Linked DNA regions of Homo sapiens: regions 1 and 2 are each linked to region 3. Evidence: promoter capture Hi-C in human tissues and cell types (Jung and others, 2019). All regions are on one chromosome and are shown on one strand. The core of a region is centred on a gene start or on the middle of the fragment in contact, and the rest is flanking DNA. Distances in the headings are between cores, read along the strand shown.

Evidence for each region. Contacts are between HindIII fragments. The study calls those that stand out against the background at their distance.
Region 1: a fragment that was not itself captured here is called in contact with the fragment with the promoter of MMD2 in region 3 in 1 of the 25 tissues and cell types used here (hippocampus).
Region 2: a contact is called between a fragment that was not itself captured here and the fragment with the promoter of MMD2 in region 3, in 3 of the 25 tissues and cell types used here (lymphoblastoid cells, mesendoderm cells and spleen).

The regions. Positions count from the first base shown.
Region 1 is chr7:5,114,872-5,119,332 of GRCh38, reverse strand. It overlaps the pseudogene OR10AH1P. Among named protein-coding and RNA genes, the nearest start is that of RBAKDN, 45 kb to the right of the region's middle. RefSeq lists a silencer at 1,253-1,411. The HindIII fragment of the contact is 3,284 bases long and covers 851-4,134 here.
Region 2 is chr7:5,095,781-5,099,987 of GRCh38, reverse strand. No RefSeq gene overlaps it. Among named protein-coding and RNA genes, the nearest start is that of RBAKDN, 26 kb to the right of the region's middle. The HindIII fragment of the contact is 7,777 bases long and covers 1-4,207 here.
Region 3 is chr7:4,957,579-4,961,844 of GRCh38, reverse strand. It overlaps MMD2 (monocyte to macrophage differentiation associated 2), which reads left to right and starts at 2,658. Exons shown (of 7, transcript NM_198403.4): 1 at 2,658-2,874. The coding sequence starts at 2,828. The HindIII fragment of the contact is 48,661 bases long and covers 1-4,266 here.

The DNA of each region.
Region 1 (4,461 bases), core at 1,243-3,742, 160 kb before region 3:
GGCGGATCACAAGGTCAGGAGTTCAAGACCAGCGTGGCCAACATAGTGAAACCGTCTCTACTAAAAATACAAAAAATTAGCTGGGCATGGTGGTGGGCACCTATAATCCGAGCTACTCGGGAGGCTGAGGCAGGAGAATCGCTTGAACCCAGAAGGCGGAGGTTGCAGTAAGCTGAGTTCGAACCATTGCGCTCCAGCCTGGGCAATAGTGTGAGACTCCATCTAAAAAACAAAAAAAAAACAAAACAAAGCAAAATGCATACACACAAAAAAACCAGCTGTCTTAAATCTGTTTAGGGGTGATCATGTTCCATATACCGGTAGCATTTGGGGAGAAGGCTGGGAGGCTCTTCTGCTCCAGGGCTAGGGCTTTTGTGTTTCAGGTTTCCTGACACCAGCCTCAAGAAGCCACAGATAAGGATGGAAATGGTATGAAGAGACTCTTCCTCTTTCCCAAGACTCCTGAAGCCATTGTCAGCTTCCTTCTTGGTGCTCCTCACTGGAGTAGACATAATTCTTCCCAATCAGCCTTGATAGGCGTGCACATCCACCAGCCAGGTGGTTAGGTAGGCAGAGGTTACCTGCACTGACCATGCCTCTGAGGTTCCTGGCTCCTAAATGGGCCCTTCAGGAGGTATTTTTTTGTTTGAGATGGGGCTTTGCTCTGTCACCCAGGCTGGAGTACAGTCCTGCAATCATAGCTCACTGCAGCCTCCACCCCCTGGGCTCAAGTGATCCTCCTGCCTCAGCCTCCCACTTAGCTGGGACTACAGGCACACAGCAGTACACCTGGACAATTTTTGTAGAGGCGGGGTTTCACTGTGTTAGCCAGGCTGGTCTCAAACTCCTGGACTCGAGATCCTCCTGCCTTGGCCTCCCAAAGTGCTGGGGTTACAGGCATGAGCCACTGCGCCAAGCCCAAGAACATTTTTGATTATCACACAGGGTAGTGGGGTGGAGGGTGCCACCGGCATCCAGTGAATAGAGAAAGACTCAGAGCGCGGCCGAGCACTTTGTAACGCATGGGACATCCCCCAACAGCAAAGAACCATCCAGCGCAAGACGTCAACGGACACAGCAGCGCTAGGCTGGAGTCGGATTGCTGGTCTTTGCGTGCTATACTTAGATTTACACCCCGTAGGCGTTGGGGAGGCTTAGATGGCTCCAGAATGGTGAGATTCCCCTCAGTGGGAGAAATCTCAGGACAGACACCGCCTGGCACCCAGCATCAGGCAAAATCCACCTGGTGGCCATCCCCAGCGTCCTCTGGCCGACCATGCATTGCAGGGCCTCCTGCATGTCCCGGTTCCGCAGCGTGTAGATGGCCGGGTACAGCAGCGGGGTGACGTTGATATAGATGAGCGAGACCAGCTTGTCCTCCTCAAGGGAACGGCTGTTCAGGGGCCTGGCATACATGGCCGTGGCACAGCCGTAGTGGAGCACAGCCACGGTGAGGTGGGACGCCACCGTGTTGAAGGCCTTGCGGCGGCCCGCGACCCCCCCAACACCCAGGATGACCACCAGCACCCGGGTGTAGGAGAGCAGGATGAGGAGCAGGGGTAGCACCAGCAGCAGCAGGCAGGCCACCAGGAGGACGCGCTCCTGCAGGGCCCGGCACCCGCAGGCCAGCACCAGCACGGCCGGGAGGTCGCAGAAGACGTGGTTGACCAGGCCGCCGCGGCAGAAGGGCAGCTGGAAGATGACCGCGGTGAGGCCCAGGGCCAGGACAGAGCCACCCGCGCAGCAGGCGGCCAAGCAGGCCCCAGCAGACGTCCATGGTCATGAGCCGAGGGTAGCAGAGTGGATGGCAGATAGCCAGGTAGCGGTCTAGGGCCATGGCAGCCAGCAGCAGGCACTCGGAGCCCCCCAGGGCCACGAAGAGGCCCATCTGGGCGGCGCAGGTAGAGGGGTCCACAGCCTGGCCCCTGGAGGGCAGGAGGAAGCCGGCCAGCATGCGTGGCGTGAGCACCAGCGTGTAGGCTGCCTGCGCCGCGGACAGCGCCCCCAGGAAGAAGTACATTGGCGAGTGCAGGGCGGGGTCCACCAGGGCCAGGCCCAGGATCAGTAGGTTCCCCGCCAGGGTGACCAGGTAGAGCGGCAAGAAGAGGACGAAGAGCAGCACGCGGAGCCCCGGGGGCCACACGGAGAAGCCCAGGATCACGAACTCCTGCAGGGCTGTCCCATTGGACTCAGGCCAGCAGCTCGCGTTGGGGTCTGCGGCAGGGACAGGAGTGCAGGCTGGAGAGGTGTCACTGTGACACCTCCCTCCTAGACACCTGTATGCCTTTTGCCTGTCCTAGGCCCCAGAACCCCACGCCCAGCCTTCTGAGGGCTACCCTTTCTCACTCTGTCCCCACCTTCTCCCAGGAACCCAGAATCCTCCCCTCAATCCATCCTGGGCACCCCTCACTTCCCCCAGTCCAATGTTCCCCGGAAATTCAGATGGCCGGAGCTGCTGTGCTGTGCCCTGCATGCTTCCAGGCACCCAGGGGTCTCCTTCAGACGTAGCCACCCACCCTCCCAGTTCTATCCCACCTCCTAAAACCTACCTCGTCCATACCTAGGAAGGCAGGCATCCTGGTTCCCAGCCTACAGTGAGAAGGAAGAGCTGCAGCCGGCGGGGAAGGACTGGAAGGAGTCTGGGTTCTCCCAGGTGATCTCTGCGTGGAGTGGGCTGGTTCTGAGCAGCAGGAATGACCAGTCCTGCAGACAGAGCCACGTGGGTGAAGTCTCAGAAGCAGCGGGAGAATCCTCTGTGCACAGAGGCTGCCTGACCCCCTGCACACCTCCCGGCCCTGAGCTGATAGAACAGTGCATCCATCATCTCTCCTGCCCTGGGATGGGTGCTTTATGATTCCCTTTTCTTCCCCTTTGCTGGATTCAGGACAAACCCATTGCAATCCTGGGTTCATCATTTCTCCCTCAGTTGCAGAGAAAATAACTACCAGGGAAGAGCATCCACCCTCTCCACGGGGGCAGCCGCCTCATGAGGAAGAGCAGCCTTCACGAGTCAGAGCAGCTGCTGCCATGGTCATGAGGAGAGTTCCAGTCCTTCCTCTTAGATGCAGAATCATATATCATCATCATTATTGAGACTGGGTCTCGCTCCATTGCCAAGGCTGGAGGGCAGTGGTGTGATCTTGGCTCACTGTGCTCTCCGCCTCCTGGGTTCAAGCAATCTTCCCATCTCAGCCCCCCAGGTAGTTGGGACCGCAGGTGAACACTGCCTCATCTAGCTAATTTTTCTAATTTTTATTTTTTGAGACAGTGTCTCATATCACTCTGTTGCCTAGGCTGGAGTGCAGTGGCGCAATCTCAGCTCACTGCAGCCTCTGCCTCCCAGGTTCAAGCGATTCTCCTGCCTCAGCCTCCCGAGTAGCTGGGACTACAGGCATGTGCCACCACGCCCAGCTAATTTTTGTATTTTTAGTAGAGATGGGGTTTCACTATGTTGTCCAGGCTGCTCTCAAACTCCTGACCACAGCTGATCCGCCTCACCCTCCCAAAGTGCTGGGATTATAGGCATGAGCCACCGTGTCTGCCCTAATTTTTCTATTTTTTGTTGAGACAGGGTTTCGCCATGTTACTCAGGCTGGTCTTGAACTCCTGCACTCAAGCGATCTGTCTGCCTCGGCTTCCCAAAGTGCTGGGATTACAGGGGTGGGCTACTGCACCCTACCTACTTTTTTTTTTTTTTTTTTGAGACAGGGTCTCATTCTGTTACCTAAGTTGGAGTGTGGTGGTCTGATCACACAGCTCACTGCAGCCTCAACCTCCCAGAATGAGGCAGTCCTCCTGCCTCAGCCCCCAAGTAACTGAGACCATGGGTGCCTGCCACCACACCTATTTTTTTTTTAAAATTATTTGTAGAAATAGGGTCTCCTTATATTGCCCAGGCTGTTCTCCAACTTCTGGGCTCAAGTGATCCTCGTGCCTCAGCCTCCCAAAGTGCTGGGATTACAGGTGTGAGCCACCACACCCAGCCCATGTTTTAAAATTTTTAAAAACTTCTTAACATTTTTTTAAATGCTAGAAGACTTTATAACTTTTTTAATTTTAAAAAGCTTAATTTTTAAAAAAAGCTGAAGCATTTTTAAAATTTAAGGAACTTAAAAAAACAAAATTTTTTTAATTTTAAAAAACTTAAAAATTTTTAATTTTAAAAAAACTTTAAATTTTTTTAAGGTAAAAAAAAAAAAAAAGCTTTGTAGAGATGGGACTCTAGCTGTGTTACCCAGGCTGGTCTCAAGCTATGGGCTTCAAGTGAAACTCCTGCCCCAGCCTCTTGAGTAGCTGGGACTACAGGTGTGTACCACAATGCTCAGTTAATTTATTTTATCTGTGTAGACATGGGACTCTTGCTATGTTGCCCAGGCTGGTGTCGAACACTCCTGGGCTCAAGTGAGCCTTGGCCTCCCAAAATGCTGGAATTACAGGCATGAGCCACCACACCACACCCAG
Region 2 (4,207 bases), core at 9-2,508, 140 kb before region 3:
TCGGCCTCCCAAAGTGTTGGGATTACAGGTGTGAGACACCGTGCCCGGCTCCAAAAAACTTTTAGAACTGAAATTTAGTAAAGTTGCAGGATATAAAAATCAACATACAAAAATCAGCAGTATTTCTATACATTGACAATGAACTAGCTGAAAAAAAAAGTCAAGAAAGCAATCCCATTTACAGTAGCTATAAAAAGTACCTAGGAATAAAGTTAACCAAGGAGGAGAAAGGTCTCTGAAAGGGAAACTATAAAACACCGGTGAAATAAATTGAAGAGGACACACAGAAAAATGCAAAGACACCTTATGCTCATGGATCGCAAGAATTCATACTGTGAAAATGATCAGACCACCAACAGCAATCTACAGATTCAATGCAATCCCTATCAAAATACCAAGACATTCTTCACAGAAATAGCAAAAACAATCCTAAAATTCATATAGAGCCACAAAAAACTCCAAATAGCCAAAGCAGTCGTGAGCAAGAACGAAGCTGAAGGCATAACACTAAATGACTTCAAAATATACTACAAAGCTACAGTAATTAAAGCCTCATGGCACTGGCATAAAAACAGACACACAGACCAATGGAACAGAATAGAGAACCCAGAAATAAATCCGTACATCTACAGTGAATTTTTTTTTTTTTTTTTGAGATGGTTTCTTACTCTGTCACCCAGGCTAGAGTGCAGTGGTGCAATCACAGCTTACTGCAGCCTTGACCTCCCCAGGCTCAGGTGATTCTTCCACTTCAGCCTTTCAAGTAGCTAGGACCACAGGCATGCACCATCACACCTAGCTATTTGTGTGTGTTTTTTGTAGAGACAGAGTTTTACCATGTTGCCCAGCCTGGTCTCAAACTCCTGGGCTCAAGCAGTCCACCCACTTCAGCCTTCCAAAGTGCTGGGTTTACAGGCATGAGCCACTGTGCCTGGCCAGGTGATGCAATTTTGACAAAGGCATCAAGAACATTCATTGGGGAAAGGATAGTCTCTTCAATAAATGGTTGAAAAACTGGGTATCCATAAACAGAAGGATCAAACCTGATCCCCATTTCTCGTCATATACAAAAATCAACTCAAAATGAATATAAGACTTAAATATAAGACCCAAAGCTATAACATTACTAGAAGAAAACACAGGGAAAACACTTCATGACACTGGTCTGGGCAAAATTTTTATTAACAAGATCTTGGTCAGCTGCGATGGCTCACACCTGTAATCCCAGCACTCTGGGAGGCTGAGGTGGGCAGATCACTTGAGGTTAAGAGTTCGAGACCAGCCTGGCCAACATGGTGAAACCCATCTCTACTAAAAATCTAAAAATTAGCCAGGCGTGGTGGCATGTGCCTGTAGTCCCAGCTGCTTGGGAGGCTGAGGCAGGAGAATGGCTAGAACCTAGGAGGTGGAGGTTGCAGTGAGCTGAGATCATACCCCTACACTCCAGCCTGGGCAACAGAGTGAGACTCCGTGTCCAAAAAAAAAAAAAAAAAAAAAAAAAAAAATAGCACAGGCAGCAACAACAATAACAAAGAGAAATGGAATTATGTCACACTAAAGATTCTGCACAACAAAGGAAACAGTTGACAGAGTGAAAAGACAACCTGCAAAATGGGAGAAAATATTTGCAAACTACTTATCTAACAGGAGATTAATATCTAGACTATAAAAATAACTCAAACACTCAACAGCAAAACAGATAATCCAACTTTTTTAATGGGCAGTGAGCTAAATAGACGTTTCTCAAAAGAAGACATACAAATGGCTCAAGATCTATGAAAAAAGGCTCAACATCACTAATAATCAGGGAATGGTGAATCAAAACCACAATGAGATATCATCTCACCCCAGTTAGAATAGCTGTTATTGGCCAGACACGGTGGCTCACGCCTGTAATCCCAGCACTTTGGGAGGCTGTGGTGGGTGGATTACTTGAGGTCAGGAGTTCAAGACCAGCTTGGCCAATATGGTGAAACCCCGTCTCTACTAAAAATACAAAAATTAGCCAGGTATGGTGGCAAGCACCTGTAATCCCAGCTACCGGGGAGGCTGAGGCAGGAGAATCACTTGAACTCAGGAGGCAGAGGTTGCAGTGAGCCAAAATCGTGCCATTGCACACCAGCCTGGACAACAAGAGTAAGACTCTGTCTCTCAAAAAAAAAAAAAAAAAAAAAAAAAAAAAAAAAAAAGCCAGGCGTGGTGGCTCATGACTGTAATCCCAGCACTTTGGGAGGCCAAGGCAAGAGGATCACCTGAGGTCAGGAGCTCAAGACCAGCCTGGCCAACATGATGAAACCCTGTCCCTACCAAAAATACAAAAATTAGCTGGGCGTGGTGGCAGGCGCCTGTAATCCCAGCTACTCAGGAGGCTGAGGCAGAAGAATCGCTTGAATCGGGGAGGCGGAGACTGCGGTGAGCGGAGATCGCACCACTGCACTCCAGCCCGGGTGAAAAGAGTGAACTTCCATCTCAAAAAAAAGAAAAAGCTATTATCAAAACGACAAAAATAACAAATGCTGGTGAGGAGATGGAGAAAGGGGAACGCTTAGACACTGTTGACAGACCGTAAATTAGTACCATCATTGTAGAAAACAGTATGGGAGTTCCTCAAAAAAATGAAAAATACAACAACCATATGATCCAGCAATCCCCCTCTAGCATATATATCCAAAGAAAAGGAAGTCTCTGTGTTGAACAGACACCCGCACTCCCGTGTGGATTGCAGCACTTTTCACAATAGCCAAGATTTGGAATCAATCTGAGTGTTCACCAACAGATGAATGGATAAATATGTGTTATAGATCACAATGAAATATGATTCAGCCTTAAAAAGAGTAAAATCCTGTTATTTGGGGTCACATGGATGAGCGTAGAGAACATTAGGTTAAGTGAAATAAGCCAGGCACAGGAAGATAAATACCACAAGTTCTCACTTATATGTGAAAGCTAAAAATGTTGATCTCGTGGAAGTAGAATAATGAGGCGGGTGGATCACCCGAGGTCGGGAGTTCGAGACCGGCCTGACCAACATGGAGAAACCACATCTCTACTAAAAATACAAAAAAAAAAAAAAAAAAAAAAAAGCCAGGCATGCTGGCTCATGCCTGTAGTCCCAGCTGCTTGGGAGGCTGAACCCAGGAGGCAGAGATTACAGTGAGCAGAGATCACACCATTGCACTCCAGCCTAGGCAACAAAAGTGAAACTCTGTCTCAAAAAACAAAAAACAAAAAACAAAAACAAGAAAAGAAAAGAAAGTAGAATAACGGTTACTAGAGGCTGAGAAGGATGGGAGAGGATAGAGAGTGGTTGGTTAACAGATACAAAATTACAGATCAGGTGCGGTGGCTCATACCTGTAATCCCAGCATGTTAGGAAGCAGAGGCAGGCAGTTCACCTTGGCTCAAGAGTTTGAGACCAGCCTGGCCAACACAGTGAAACCCAGTCTGTACTAAAAATACAAAAATTAGCTGAGCATGGTGGTACATGCCTGTAGTCCCAGCTACTCAGGAGGCTGAGGCAGAAGAATCACTTCAACCTGGGAGGCAGAGGTTGCAGTGAGCTGAGATGGCAACACTGCACTCCAGCCTGGGTGACAGAGCTAGACTCTGTCTCAAAAAAAAAAAAAAAAAATTACAGCTAACAAAGGAGAAATAATTTGAATGTCCTATAGCACCATAGGGTGACTATAATTGACAATAATTTATGGTATATTTTCAAATAGAGCAGATTTTGAGTGTTTTTGAGTACAAAGAAATGATAAATATTTGAAGTGATCAATGTGTCAATTTTAGTGATTTGATCATTACACACTGTTTACCTGTATTAAAATATCACACTGTGCCCCGTAAATACGTACAATGATTATGTGTCAATAAAATAAAAAAAAACCCCTTCGCCAATATAACTGCATTTTCTTCCCCTTTTTGTGCTATTGTCATACAAATTATACCTTCTGAGATTATCAATACAGTTTTTATCATTATTTCTTTTTTCACTGTAGTTGTCTTTTTTAGAGACAGGGTCGTCTTGCTGTGTTACCCAGGCTGGAGTGTAGTGGCTATACACAGATGCAACCACAACACACCACAGCCTCAAACTCTTGGGCTCACATAATCCTCCTCCTGCCTCAGCCTTCTGAGTAGCTGGGTCTACAAGCACGTGCCACCACGCCTAGCTTACGCAGTTGTCTTACAAGAAAGAAATGAG
Region 3 (4,266 bases), core at 1,409-3,908:
AGATAGATGAGGCTGGGACGGAGGCTGAGATCCTGGAGGCAGAGGTTGGAAAACCAGGAGTTCTCATGTCCCAGGGCAGAAGAGTGTCTCAGCTCCAGGAGAGAGAGAGACCATCTGCCACTTTCTTTCTTTCTTTCTTTTTTTTTTTTTAGAGGGAGTCTCGCTCTGTCACCCAGGCTGGAGTGCAGTGGCGCGATCTTGGCTAACTGCAACCTCCGCCTCCCAGGTTCAAGCGATTCACCTGCCTCAGCCTCCCGAGTAGCTGGGACTTATAGTCCCAGGATGGTCTCGATCTCTTGACCTCGTGATCCGCCTGCCTTGGCCTCCCCAAGTGCTGGGATTACAGGCATGAACCACCGTGCCCGGCTGCATCTGCCACTTCTAATCCATCATCAGGGTGGTCTGGTGGCCTTTGCCTCCTAAGCACTCCTGTTCCCTCTTCTGGTCCCCACCTCAGCCATCCCCCACCCCACCCCCCAGCCCTCAGCCCTGCCATGGCCTCTGAAGGCATCTACTTATAACCCTCTGGTCCTCCCCAGTGGAAGTGGCGAAATAAATTAGATGGAGTCAGCAACACCTGTAATCTCCCCACTTTGGGAGGCTGAGGCGGGCAGATCACCTGAGGTCAAGGAGTTTGAGACCAGCCTGGCCAACATGGTGAAACCCCATCTCTACTAAAAATACAAAAATCAGCTGGGCATGGTGGTGCACGCGTGTAGTCCCAGCTACTTGGGAGGCTGAGGCACGAGAATCGTTTGAACCCGAGAGGCAGAGGTTGTAGTGAGCTGAGATGGCGCCACTGCACTCAAACCTGGGCGACAGAGTAAGACCCCGTCTCAAAAAAAAAAGAAAAAAAGGTGAAGTCCTTTGTCTTTTTCCCACTTCTGGTCCTAGCTCCCTGGGGGCAGAGGGAGTGGGTGGGGTTATCTTCTGAATGTTCAGCAGGATCTCAAATAAAGCATTACTGTATTAATAAAAAGGAATAGGGGCTGGGGCTTGGGAAGGAGGGTGAAGTGTGTGTGCAAACGAAGGGCCTTCTCTTGGATCTGGGGACCAATCCTAGGGTTCCTCAGGTGCCGCTGGCATGTCTTTCACATGGAAGCCTGTCTTCCCTCCATCAGCCCCCCGGGGTTCCAAGCCTCCCATAGGGTGGTTGGTTTTCCAAAGCCCAGAACCTGGGCCAGGTCTCCTACGGGAGAAAGCTGGAATTTGTACTCGGGAATCCAGCCACCAGATGCAAATGACCCTGTCATGGCGGTCAGGAGGGTCCTCAGAGTCATGAAGTCTTGGGGGAAGAGGGTTTTCCCAGAGGCCCTGACCCTTCCCGGGCAGGTCCCATAGGGGCCCTTGTGCCTAGCAGGGACGTGGCAGTAGGGAGCCAGGCAGTGGGGGGAGCAAGCAAGCCACAGGCAGGCGGTAGGTGCTGGGCCCAGCTACACTGGGGACGACGGGCACAGTGTCCGCTGTCCTTCCAGCCAAGTTGGGGCCAGCGGGGTCGGTCCAGCCCTGTCTAGCCCTGGAGGGCTTTTTTCTCCTCACTGGAAAAAGTACTGGTGGAGGATACCTGGGAAAAAGGGGCTGGATTGGGAAGTCCCCTATCCACTTCCTACTCCCTCCACCCCCCACCAACCTCACTTTCCAGTCCCCCTACCCTCGGGTCCCCCACTCCCCACCAACTCCTCCACTTCCCACTCCCTCCACCCCCAGGTCCCCCGCTCCCTCCAACACCCCCACTTCCCACTCCCCCCACCCCCAGGTCCCCCACTCCCTCCAAGACCCCCATTTCCCACCTCCACCAACCTCGGAGTCCCTCTCTTCCCACTAACCCCCTCACTCCCCCCCCAACACCCCGACTTCCCACTCCCTCCACCTCCAGTTCCCCTTCTTCCCACCAACCCCCCACTTCCTCCACCCCCAGGTCCCCCACTCCCCCCAACCCCCCACTTTCCACTCCCTCCACCCCCCAACACCCCCATTTCCCACTCCCTCCACCCCCAGGTCCCCCACTCCCCCCAACTTCCCCCACTTTCCACTCCCTCCACCCCCAGGTCCCCCACTCCCCCCAACCCCCCACTTTCCGCTCCCCCACCCCCAAGTCCCCCACTCCCCACCAACGCCCCCACTTCCCACTCATCCCACGTCCATTCCCACTCTCCTTACCCCCCACTTCCCACTTCCCCCAACCCCTCCAGCACCCCCTGTTCCCACTCCCGTCCCCTTCCCACTCCCCGACTCCCTCAGCCCCGCAACTTTGCATTCCACCCACCTGGCGCCCCCGCCTTCCCAATCCTTCCCACTCCCCCTACTACCACTTCCCGCTCCCCACCCCACCAACCCCCCACCTCCTGGCTTCCAGGGAGGGCACCGGGAAAAGGGGCCGGGGCCAGGGCCGCCCCAGGCCTGGGCGATGGGTGGCTCGCGCGCGCAGCCAGGACCCCCCCCGTCCCGCCCCCACTCCTTACGCCCACTTCCTCACCCCCACCTCTCCCACCCCCCCATCTCCCCACGACCCTCCTCCACCTCAGCGGAGGCGGCGGGGTCGCGGGAGGGAGGGGGCCGGGCTTAGGCGATTGGCAGCGCGAGCCCGGGAGCCCCCCCGTGCCCCCGCCCGCCCCGCCCCCGCCACCATCTGCTCGGGATTTGGCGTCGGCGGCTCCGGGCGCCTCCAGCTCCGGCTCGGGCTCCGGCTCCGGCTCCGGGCGCCGACCAGGTCCCCTTGGCCCCCGCCGCGCGCCCTCCAACCTGCTGCTGCCGCCGCCGCGCCCCCCAGGCTCTGCCAGCTACCCGCGCTCTGAGCCCGGGGCCAGATTCCCATGGAAGCGCCGCGATGTTCGCCCCCCGGCTGCTGGATTTCCAGAAGACGAAATACGCGAGGTGAGCGGCGGCCGCGGAGGTCCGCGGGGAGGGAGGGAGGGGCGCGCGGCGGCGGGGGCCGCGGAGGCCACCTTGGTTCTCGGGCCCCGCCGCCCGGAGCGCTAGAGGGGATCGGCGGACCCCTGACCCCCGCCCGAGAAAACCAGGACCCAGGCAGCCTCGTCTTCTCGCTGGGATGGAGTAACCGGGGCGCCCGCGCCTCCTCGCTGGGTGCCATTGGGCAAGTCGCTTCACTTCTCTGAACCTCATTTCCACGTTTGCAAAACGGGGGTTATGCGAGTCCCCGTGTCCTGGGTCGCCGTGAGGATTAAGCGAGCTGGTCCTTGCAGAGCACTTTGCGCAGCGCCTGGAGCCCAGGCCAGCTACGCTCGGGCAGTTACGCTCGGTCTCTCTTGGGCACTCTTGTTCATGGTAAAAGGCGTTGGTACCACCTCTGTCCACCCTTCCAGCAAGTCGGAGGAAAGAGTAAGTGCTCTTTTCAGATGGAGAAACTGAGGCTCGGGGTGCGGTGGGGGGAGGCACCTGTACATCCTGGTCTTTTCATAGTGTGAACTCCGTGGTCCCCTCAGAACCTCCGTCTCTTTTGTAAAATGGTGATTAACAGACATTGTGATATCTGAGTAGAAGTTAGGCTCCTGTTGCTTGGAATTCCAGTGAAGAAGGTGGGCGTGGGGAGGGGGTTTCTCCTTTTACATATCTTTAAGATTTTGTTGGGAGATGTGCTTGCCTGGAAGCTGGCATGAAAAATCCCCTCCTAAAGTTGCTCCTCGGTCCCCAGTGGTCTTCGGCGAGCACAGACCCGTCTGCTGGGAGCAGCCCGCGGGGGCCTCTTTGGAGGGGGCACCAGGCTGTCCTCCAGGTCACCTTTCCCCCTCTGCCACCTGGGGTCCCCTGCCTTCGTGAACAGAGGGGCCTGGTGTGTGCTGAGGCTCCAGTGGGTGGTGAGTGGGAGATGGGCTGGCAGTATTCTTCCTACTCACATCAGTGTGGCTTGTCACTTGCAACTGGTTGTTGAGAGTGCCCTGGTGCTCCTGAAGTCTCCACAAGTTCTGGTCATATTGAGCACAGCTTGACAAGAGGAGCTCAGGGCTAGGATGGTGTCCAGGGTAGGGAAGGCTGGCGGACAGGACGGAACCCTTCCTTCCCCCTCAGTCTCACCCTCTGTTTCCCCCTGGGGGACATGATGAGTCTATCTCTCCTAAATGGGGAATCCCACCCAGAGATGTGATGCACTTGGGAAGGACTTGAGGATAAGTTCCTGCGGATTGACTCTGTTGACCAGATTGTGTGACTGGACTGGACTTACTTTTTTTTTTTTTCTGAGATGGAGTCTCGCTCTTGTTGCCCAGGCTGGAGTGCAATGGCATGATCTCGGCCCACTGCAACCTCCAC